2 separate regions of the Homo sapiens genome follow, and region 1 is linked to region 2. Evidence: promoter capture Hi-C in 16 types of primary human blood cells and fetal thymus (Javierre and others, 2016). All regions are on one chromosome and are shown on one strand. The core of a region is centred on a gene start or on the middle of the fragment in contact, and the rest is flanking DNA. Distances in the headings are between cores, read along the strand shown. Region 1 has its middle 48 kb from the start of KIFC3. Region 2 holds the start of CNGB1 (cyclic nucleotide gated channel subunit beta 1).

Region 1 (5,347 bases), core at 2,705-5,204, 120 kb after region 2:
AATTTTAGTTCTGTACAAAAAAATTTCTATGTCTTCTATACAAAAAAGAAATTCTACAAGGAAAGTTTTAAAATTGCTCTAGGAATTACAATATACATATTTAGCTTTTGACAGTCTACTTAGAATTGCTATTCGATCCCTTTAAGTGGAATATAGAATCTTTTCGCTAGATAGGTTCCTTTAGTCTCCCCTAGTTTGGCTCACGGCTCACGGGAGCTTACAGAACAATTTTTACTCCTAATCTAAATGTGCTTTGAACTAAACCTCTTGAAGTCAAATATTAATGTATAGGACTTCTAGTTGAAGACGGAATATTTGCATTCATTTCCATCCCTTCCTGAACCCAAATGAAATGATTGTAAAGGATTTAAAAAGTAAAAATCCATAAGGATAAAGATAATAGAAGAGGAAAAACAGTAGACGAAAGGTGTTAAGGAATCTGGATTTTGGAACACCTGGCCCAGAGGTGAGAGCTGAGGAAGCACCGCACCCGAAACCCAGGGATGATGTGAAACTCACTCAGAACACTGAGACCTCTGGCCTCCTGCCTTCTCTTAGGTCTCAGAATATTGGCAGCCAGGGTTACAGCTGATGATGAGGCAGGAGGTGGGGTGATTCACTTCTGGGGAAACAAATCAGCTCTGGAGAAAGGAACTAATAAAACTGACAATGAGGACCCTCCAATGAGTGCTCCAAGGCCCGGGTCCATCACCCTGCAGCAAAGTCCTCCAGTCACAAGCTCCACCCCCACATACAGGTCCGACTGACTGTTAGTGTCTCATCTTAAATATGAACAGAAAGCCAAGGATAATCTCACAGTTTGTCTCTAACATAAAAGTGAGACCAAAATAAAATAAGCAGGAAAAAAGAGACAAAGAAAATAGACAATCTAGGGAAAGAAAGAAAGGAAGAAATAAAAAAGAAAGAATGAGCTGGGTGTGGTGGCTCACACTTGTAATCCCAGAATTTTGGGAGGCCGAGGAGAGAGGATCACTTGTGGTCAGGGGTTTGAGACCAGCCTGGCCAACATGGAGAAACCCCATCTCTACTAAAAATACAAAAAAATTAGCCAGTGTGGTGGTACATGCCTGTAATCCCAGCTACTCAGGAGGCTGAGGCAGGAGAATCGCGTGAACCTGGGAGGCAGAGGTTGCAGTGAGCCAAGATTGCACCATTGCACTCCAGCCCAGGCGACAGTGCGAGACTACCATCTCGAAAACAACAACAACAACAAAAATTAGCCGGGTGTGGTGGTGCAGGCCTGTAATCCCAGCTACTCAGGAGGCTGAGGCAGGAGAATCACTTGAACCTGGAAGGCGGAGGTTGCAGTGAGTCGGGATTGTGCCACTGCACTCCAGCCTTGGCAACAGAGCGAGACTCTGCCTCAAAAAAAAAAAAAAGAATGAACGAACGAATATTATAATAGTTCCAGAGACAAGAGGCAATTACACTCTTGAAATGCTATTGAATAAATGAATATTCAAAACCAAGACAATCTCCAGATATTACCAGGGATAAGGAAAAATAAAATAAAATAAACACAAGAAAAATCTATGTGTTTTTAATATGAGGGGAAAAATCAGTAAGTGGATTGGAAGATGAAGTTGAGGAAATTTTCCAGGAACTAGAACAAACAGAGAGAGATGAAAAATAATAGGCCATGCATGGTGGCTCACACTGGTCATCCTAACACTTTGGAAGGCCAAGGCAGGAGGATCACTTGAGACCAGGAGTTTGAGACCAGCCTGGGCAACATAATGAGACCCCCGTCTCTACAAAACATTAAAAAAACATTAGCCGGGTGTGGTGACACACTCCTGTAATCCTGGCTACTCAGGAGGCTGAGGTGGGAGGATGCCTGGAGCCTAGGAGCTTGAGGCTGCAGTGAGCGGTGATCACACAACTACACTCCAGTCTGGGCAACAAAGCAAGATCGTGTCAAGAAAAGGAAGGAAGGAAAGGAGGGAGGGAGGGAAGGAAGGAAGGAAGGAAGGAAGGAAGGAAGGAAGGAAGGAAGGAAGGAGGGAGGGAAGGAAAGAAGTTGAAATCAAATCAGCAATTTCAAAGAATTCCAGAGAGAACAAAGAAAGGGCAGAGAATATCAATGAAATAACACAGGAAAACTTCCCACAGCTGAAGCACTGGAAGGGCCTGCGGAGAACTCCGTACAATGTATGAAAAAGACCCATTTTTGTGGCTGGGCACAGCGGCTCACTCCTGTAATACTAGCACTTTGGGAGGCCGAGGCGGGTGGGTCACCTGAGGTCGGGAGTTCGAGACCAGCCTGGCCAACATGGCAAGACCCCATCTGTACTAAAAATACAAAAATTAGCCGGGCATGGTGGCAGGCGCCTGTAATCCCAGCTATTTGGGAGGCTGAGGCAGGAGAATCGCTTGAACCTGGTGGATGGAGGTTTTAGTGAGCTGAGATAGGGCCACTTCATTCCAGCCTGGGCAAAAGAGTGAGTGAGACTCCATCTCAAAAAAAAAAAAAAAAAAAAAAAACCCTTTTTAAAATTTATTTTTATTTATTATTATTATTATTGTATTATATTATTTTGTTTGTGTGTGACAGGGTCTCACTCTCTCCCCCAGGCTGGAGTCCAGTGGCTCAATCATGGCTCACTGCAGCCTCAAATTCCTGGGCTCAAGCAATCCTCCTGTCTCAGCCTCCTGAATAGCTGGGACTACAGGTGCATGCCACCATGCCCGGCTAATTTTTCAATTTTTTGTAGAGACAGGGTCTCGCTATGTTGCCCAGGCTGGTGGTCTGGAACTTCTGGGCTCAAGCAATTCTCCCGCCTCAGTCTCTCAAGGTGTTAAGATTATAGGCATGAGCCACCACACCTGGCTTTTATTATTACTATTTATTTTTTAGAGAAAGGGTCTTGCTCTGTCACCCAGGCTGAAGTGTAATGGCACGATTATAGCTCACTACAGCCTCAAACTCCTGGCCTCAAGTGATTCCCCTACTTTTCGAGGCTGATTCCCCTCAAGCCTCCCAAATTACTAGGATTACAGGTGGAAGCCTCTGCACCCGGCCCATTAACTATTTTTTGTTGTTGTTGAGATGGAGTTTTGCTCTTGTTGCCCAGGCTGGAGTGCAGTGGCATGATCTCGGCTCACTGCAACCTCCACATTCCAGGTGCAAGTGATTCTCCTGCCTCAGCCTCCCAAGTAGCTGGGATTACAGGCACACACCACCACACCCGGCTAATTTTTGTATTTTTAGTAGAGATGGGGTTTTATCATGCTGGCCAGGCTGGTCTTGAACTCCAGACCTCAGATGATCTGCCTGCCTCGGCCTCCCAAAGTGCTGGAATTACAGGCATCAGCCACCACACCTGGCCCCATTAACTATTTTCTAAACACCTCTACCCCTATCTTCTAGAGGCAGTGAGTTTACGTTCTCCTTCCCTTCATAAGACAAAGGGCACCAACTCTGTAGTTTAAAAGACTATATTGACTTTCAGATTTTTAGAGAAGTGCCACTATGAACCCACAGAGCACTTAATAAGGGTTTTAAAATAATTAAATCAGTAATAACAAAGTAAAGGCCGTCACAGATACACACACACAGCAGTTTGTCTCAATCGATCTGATGTGTGTTAAGTTTGCATTGTCATTATCTACAAGGTAATTTATCTCCATTAAACTGGTCTGTAGGGGATACATTGATGAATGAAATCTGGGTTTCATTGCTTTGTTTATTTACAACGTACCCTTTCTACTGAGATCACCAATTATCAAGAAACTGTGATGGTAGTTGCCTTAAATTGGTTAACTGGGTTTCTGTCCCCAAAAAGGCTTAAATTTAGACGAGTAGAGCCACAGATATAAACCTCTAAAGCTTATTACTAACTCCTCTGTTAATCTCTGTACTGTCTGATCACTCAGCTACTATTGTTCTCTGCTTATGGAAAAGCACAGAAAAAGTGTGGTACTTACCATGACATCTACAGGAAGAACAGTTTTAGGATTCTAGGATTAGTGTTTAAGTGGAACCGGGGAAGAGAGAAGAAATTAAATCATCATAGAAATGTTCTCATAAAGCTTAATTTTATGTGAATATTTTTCACCTTGAAAACAAAGTTTAAGGTCACAGTTGCCAGAGAATCTAAATTCCTTATTTTTATGTATTTATTTAGAGAAAACCTCTAGTTTTTTGTTATGGCTGCCTGAAGGTGGCACATGCATTAAGTCCTAAGACATGCTAAATCTTTTTGTTAAAAACCCTGTGTAGCCATTCTTAGGGCTTCCTTTTAGCAAGAGAGACATTTTAGCAGTCTGCACACAGAATCGGAGATTAGCTTCATATGGGCGTCTTTTAATTTTAATTTTTTGAGACAGGTCTTATTCTGTCTATCAGGCTGGAGTGGCAGTGGCTCAGTCACAGCTCACTGCAGCCTCAAATTCATGGGCTCAAGGGATCCTCTGGATTCAGCCTTCCCAATAGCTAGGACTACAGGCATGCACCACAACGCCCAGCTAATTTTTAGAATTTTTTGTAGAGATGGGATCTGGCTATGCTGTGCAGGCTGGTCTGGAACTCCTGACCTCAAGCAATCCTCCTGCCTCGGCCTCCCAAAGTTCTGGGATGAGCCACCACACGGGGCCTCCATGCTGGCATCTCAATGCTGGTCCTGAATTTCGGCTTTCTGTGTGGTCCTTCTTAAGCCAGTTAAACCACTCTCTGTTTGCTTGATCATAAAAACAAATGAATGTTCATCTGAACAAAACGAGCTTATAGCTTTAATAGAATCTCCAAAATGTATGGCAACTTCAAGGCATTAGACAGAAAATAACAACAATAAAACTTTGGCTTCTTTACAAAGTATTTAAAAGTATTTAAAAATTGTTTTGCAAATAACTCTTCTGGCATCCAGGCCAAGCATGGTGGCCCACGCCTGTAATGCCAGTACTTTAGAAGGCTGCGGCAGGTGGATCACTTGAGGTCAGGATTTCAAGACACACCTGGCCAACATGGTGAAACCCCATCTCTATCAAAAATACAAAAATTAGCCAGATGTGGTGGGGTGCGCCTGTGTCCCCAGCTACTTGGGAGGCTGAGGCACAAGAATTGCTTGAATCTCGGAGGCAGAGGTTGCAGCGAGCTGAGATTGTGCCACTGCATTCCAGCCTGGGCAACAGAGTGAGACTCGGTCTCACACACACACACACACACACACACACACACACACACACACACAAATTCATCTGGCATCTGGACTTAATCTAAAAATATATTCTTGAACAATAAGGCCAAAGGGAAAGAAAAGTCTCAATGTTCTCTTACGCATTTATATCATCTGCAAATCTCTTTCAGGACTCCCCTCCCCTGCTTATA
Region 2 (5,424 bases), core at 1,785-4,284:
CCCAATTACAACCCCCAACCCAGCAAGAAGGAACCACTCTCCCATCTTGTAGTACAACCTGTGCTTTTATTTATGGGCAACTATGGAAAACTTTATTTAACAACTCTAGGCTTTATAGAAAACTAGAGGTGGCAAATGTACTTGTGTTTGTAGCCATAGACAGGACAGACTAATTTTGCCTTTTGGGAATTTTGTATGCATGGATCACTGGGGTCTTCTTTTGAATCTGGCTTCTTTCTCTCCATATATATGCACATGAGTTTCATCCAAACTTTAGCCACTGTGTGTGGCTGTGTTTTGCTCATTTTCCCCACCCTAGAGCCCACTACTGTTCCCTCAGGCTCATCTAATTTTCCCTCCTTCCCACTCTGCAGGGGCTCCAACTGCCTCTAAGTTGCCCAATCTCAGGACGCATTTCAAGTCTCAGCTCAGACAGTGGCCCCTTGGATCATTCCCTCACCCCAACACAGCCACTACTCTTGGCTTTCACCTCACCCCATGCTTCTGCTTCTCCATCCCCATCCCTGGCAGCTCCTTCAGGCTCCTTTACCAGCTCCTGCTCTTTTTGCATCCTCTGAGTGAGCCCGTGTTCCAGGTGCCACCTCTGGTCATCTTTGTTTCCTTGGGTTTCCGAGGTGATATCAGTCAGTCCTGTGGCTTTAAGCATCATCTGCAAGCTGAGGCCTCCAAAATTTCTATCTCCTGTAGACCTCTCCCTAAGTCTCACACACACACACACACACACACACACACACACACACATTTCAACCTGGATGTCTCTCAGACTTTTTTTTTTTTTTGCTTAGGCTGGAGTGCAGTGGTGTGATCTTGGCTCACTGCAACATCCACCCACCGGGTTCAGGCAATTCTCCTGCCTCAGCCTCCAGAGCAGCTGGGATTATAGGCACCTGCCACCACACCCGACTAATTTTTGTATTTTTAGTAGAGACGGAGTTTTGCCATGTTGGCCAGGCTGGTCTTGAACTCCTGACCTCAGGTGATCCACCTGCTTTGGCCTCCCAAAGTGCTAGGATTACAGGCGTGAGCCACTGCACCCAGCCTCTCTCAGACATCTTAACAAAGTAGTGCTCATGATTTTCCCTCCAAAATTCTTCCTCCAAACTTCCAGCCTCAGGCTTCTTCTTTTCAGTACATGTGTAAACCAGCCTGGGGCGGTTTACTGGTTCACCCACTAAACCAGCTACCCAGTTTCCCAGGGTGAGCCCCTCAATGCCCGCCTTTTTCCTCCCCTTTCCCTTCTATCTGTACTCCCACCAGCATAGTCCAAGCCCCATCATCCCTCCCGTCAGGCTGCAGGCAAGGGCGAATGTCACCTGTGTTAGTCTCAGGCCCAAGCAGAGCAGAAGGGCTTGCTGCTGTTCCTTGGGGAGGAGCTCTGACCCCTGCAGCCTGGCATATTTGTAGGGAAGGGTCAGGGAGTACATTGAGCTTTACCGTTGGGGTCTGGCCTTGCTGGCAGAAAGAACTTTCTTGTGAATCACTTGCCATGTAGAGGTTGCATTATCAGAGGTCTTGAAGCCCAACACTGGAGGGGAAGCCAGGGGTCATCCAGTCACCAATCAGCTTGTCCCTCCGCAGCCTCCTGACCAGTTTCCTGTTTCCATGCTTGCCTGCTACACAGAGCCACACAGATCATGCCCAGCCCCTGTTCAAAACCATCATCTAAAACTACACTCCTTCCTGTGGCTTACAGTCTCACAACATCTGCCCCTGCCCTCTGTCAACCTCATCTCCCACCACTCTCCCCTGCACCCGTTAAGCTCCAGGCTCCCCGGTTCCCATTCTGCTCCTCAAGGCTCATTCCAGCCTCAGAACCTTTCTCGTTGCAGTGTCCTTGGCCTGGAGCACCACTCACCCAGCTTTTTTCACAGCTGAGTCTTTCTTACTTTTCATGTCTCAGTTCAAATATACATCCACCTCGTCATAGGGGCCTGCCTACCTGCCCCTACTGCCCTCCACAACATGCTTCTGCCCTGTTTGTTTCTTTTATGGCACTTAGCATAATTTGCAATATTCTTTATTTGTCAGTAATCTCCTCCATTGGAATGTAAGCTCCATGAGGACAGGGCCTATGTCTGTCTTGCTCAGTGTGCCAAGGCTGGCACACTGCCAGGCACAAAGGAAGAGCTCTAGGCCAGGTGCAGGGGCTTACATCTGTAATCCCAATACTATGAGAGGCTGAGGCAGGAGGATTGCTTGCATCCAGGAGTTTGAGAGGTTGAGGCTGCAATGAGCTGTGATTGCACCACTTCACTTAGCCTGAGTGACAGAGAGAGACTGTGGCTTAAAAAAAAAAAAAAAAAAAGGAAAGGAAAGGAAAGGAAGAACTCTAGAAATGGTGCGGATAATTAAGTCAAGTCCTGCCCTTTGCCAAATATCCCTCAGGGCCACCACACTGAGCCCCTCTTCCTTGGGCCCTGTCCCTTGCACCCTCTCCTCCTAGATCTCTGTATCCCTTCAAGTGTCCAGCCTCAGTTCACAGGGCAGGTCAGATGCCTCAGTCATCTGCCGGGTCTTGGATCCATCCTCAAGGCCCAGGCCTGGGACACAGCCTTTCTGGCAGAGCCCAAGGCAGGGCTGCTGAGACCCTGCCCAGAGAAGACTCTAAGCCAGAAAGAACCTGCCTGCGTCCTGGCCTGGGGGCTGGAGAGTTGGGGTACACCTCTTGCCACCGCTGAGTGGGAGCTGACAAGCCCCTGCTACCATGAGGAGTCTCCAGGCATCACATGGGAACTCCAAGCTGTTATTCTCCCATCAGCCACTCCGTGTCTTGGCCAAGGTGTATGGGAAGCCAGGCCCCTGGTAAGCCGGGCAGGTCCCCTGGCAACCCATGGTGCTCCAAACCTGGGCCATGCAGGAGCCCTTCCCTGGGGCCCACATCCTTGCTGGACCCTGGGAGTTGGGAGGTGCTGCTGGTTTCCTGGGCATCAACAGCCTCTTTTCTCCCCCTCCCCCATTCAGCACCTGCTAATCCTTTGCACACGGCCCAGCTACTGCCAATTAATCTTCCTTGTGTCTGAGGGGCCAGCTACGAGTGGCAGCAAGAAGGCAATTCCTGGCTGGCGGTTGGCATCTAAGCAGGTAACTCAGGGTGAGGTGGAGGCTCGGTGGGACCCCGAGGGGATCCCCATGTTCTCCCTCTAGAAAGGCATTTAGGTAGGACCAAACTGGCACGGTGGGAAACCTGTGGCTTCCCTCTATCTGGTGGAGCTTGGACTTTAGCGGGCATCAGAATTTTCAGGACAGCTTGTACAATGCAAATTCCTAGGTCCCCCAGGAGGACTTGGGGGACCTAGGAATCTATATTTTCACTAGCTCTCCAGAAGACTCTGGAAATGCTGGTGGTGCAACACCATGGCTCCCCGAGCTGCCACTCGTGGGTCCCCCTTCCCACCTGAGCCTCCCTCATCAAAGTGCAGTCAGCAGGGACACGGGTGAAAGATGGGAGGGACCTGCAAAAATTCTCATTTAGGAGGAAAAAGAAAAATGGGGGATCGGGGAGGCTTCCTTAGTCATTTCCAGAAGGTTTAGAAATGCAAGCGAGAATTGCTGCCTGCTGGGAAGGGTCTACAGGCCTGGCCCGCGGAAGAGGCCAACACTCGGCAAATGCCACGACTACCTGGGAATACATGTGGGGCAGCTGGAATCGGGCAGACCTGAGTGTAAACTCAAGTTGGCCACTGCCGGCTGTGCTGCTTCAGGCGATTCTGTTGACCTTTCTGTGCTACATAATGAAAATTCTTATTTTACTGAGTGCAGGGGCTGGGCGGGGCGTGGTGGTGAGAGCGAGGATGAGTATGATCATGGGTAGAATGCACTTAGCTCAGCCCTGGCTCTCGGGGCTGCCTGGGGCTGGCTGGGGTCAGTGAAATCTGCTATCCCAACATGTGAGCTCTGGCAGTCCCGACCTGGGAAAACATTGTGTCTGTGCCCCCACCTTCAGGGAAATGGAAGACCAGAGGGGTCATGTCTGGCCCAAGTTCATTTTTTGGGAGGCTGAGCCAGGGATCTGACACTTAGAGCTGTGTTCCCACCACAGCCTCTCGTGGGAGAGGCTGGGCTGCTGATGCCAGAGTGGGAACAGAGGTCAGGGCTGTAAGTAGAGGACAGGCAGCACAGCCGTGGGCTCTGGGGAGCTGGGCTTGGGGGCAAGGATCCTGGGCCTGGGCTGCCCTCTTCAGCTGGGGCCAGGGTCCCTGGCAGAAAGGGGCATACAGACTCTCTGCCAAAGCCCGGGTTGCCCATGGCTGGGAGAGGGGTGGGGCACACTCATGTGGGGCAAGAACACATCTAGGGCTAGGAGTTAGCACACACTGACCTGCACGCTGCGCACTGGCCAGGCCATCCTGCAGGGGTTCAGTCATAAGGGCTGGGGCTCCCCATTCCCCAAGGAGAAATCAACCAGAAACAACCTGTACTTAAGGTAGGACTGAAATAACACAGTATATCATGAAAAAAGTCTTACCTGGCATTTTATCTTTTTCTTTCTTTCTTTTTTTAAAATATAGCACTATAAGCATTTTATTTCAGTTTTGAGACAGGGTCTTACTCTGTCGACCAGGCTGGAGTGCAATGGCTGAGTGCAATCTCCACCTTTTGGGCTCCAGTGATTCTCGTGCCTCAGCCTCCCGAGTAACTGGTACTACAGGCACGTGCCACCACGCTGGGCTAATTTTTTGTATTTTTGGTAGAGACAGGGTTTCATCATGTTGCCCAGGCTGGTCTCGAACTCCTGAGCTCAAGCGATCTGCCTGCCTCAGCCTCCTGAAGTGCTGGGATTGCAGGTGTGAGCCACACCATGCCCAGCCTTTTTGTTTGTCTGTTTGTTTTTGAGAAGGAGTCTTGCTCTGTCACCCAGGCAGGCTGGAGTGCAGTGGCACGATCTCGGCTCACTGCAACCTCTGCCTCCCGGGTTCAAGTGATTCTCCCACCTCAGCCTCCGGAGTAGCTGGGATTACAAGTGCACACCACCACACCCAGCTAATTTTTGTATTTTTAGTGGAGATGGGGTTTCACCATGTTGGCTAGGCTGATCTCGAACTCCTGACCTCTGGTGATCTGCCTGCCTTCACCTCCCAAAGTGCTGGGATTACAGGCGTGAGCTACCACAACAGGCCCATTTTTTTTTCTTTTTTTGAGACAGGATCTTGCTTTGTTACCCAGGCAGAAGTGCAGTGGCATGATCACTGAAGCCTCGACCCCTTGCCTCAGCCTCCTGAGTAGCTGGGACTACAGGTGCACACCACCATAACAGGCTTTTTTTTTTTTTTTTTTTAAATAGAGACAGGGTCTTGATATGTTGCCCACAGTGGTCTCGAACTCCTGAGCTCAAGTGATCCTCCCATCTTGGCCTCCCAAAGTGCTGGGATCACAGGCATGAGCCTCTGCACCCAGCCCATTTTA

Evidence for each region. Contacts are between HindIII fragments. The CHiCAGO score rates a contact against its expected background, and 5 or more counts as called.
Region 1: a contact is called between a fragment that was not itself captured here and the fragment with the promoter of CNGB1 in region 2, in 2 of 17 cell types (endothelial precursors and erythroblasts). The highest score is 6.0, in endothelial precursors.

The regions. Positions count from the first base shown.
Region 1 is chr16:57,847,624-57,852,970 of GRCh38, reverse strand. It overlaps a transcript of KIFC3 not described here. Among named protein-coding and RNA genes, the nearest start is that of KIFC3, 48 kb to the right of the region's middle. The HindIII fragment of the contact is 203 bases long and covers 3,853-4,055 here.
Region 2 is chr16:57,968,738-57,974,161 of GRCh38, reverse strand. It overlaps CNGB1 (cyclic nucleotide gated channel subunit beta 1), which reads left to right and starts at 3,034. Exons shown (of 33, transcript NM_001297.5): 1 at 3,034-3,102. The HindIII fragment of the contact is 12,254 bases long and covers 1-5,424 here.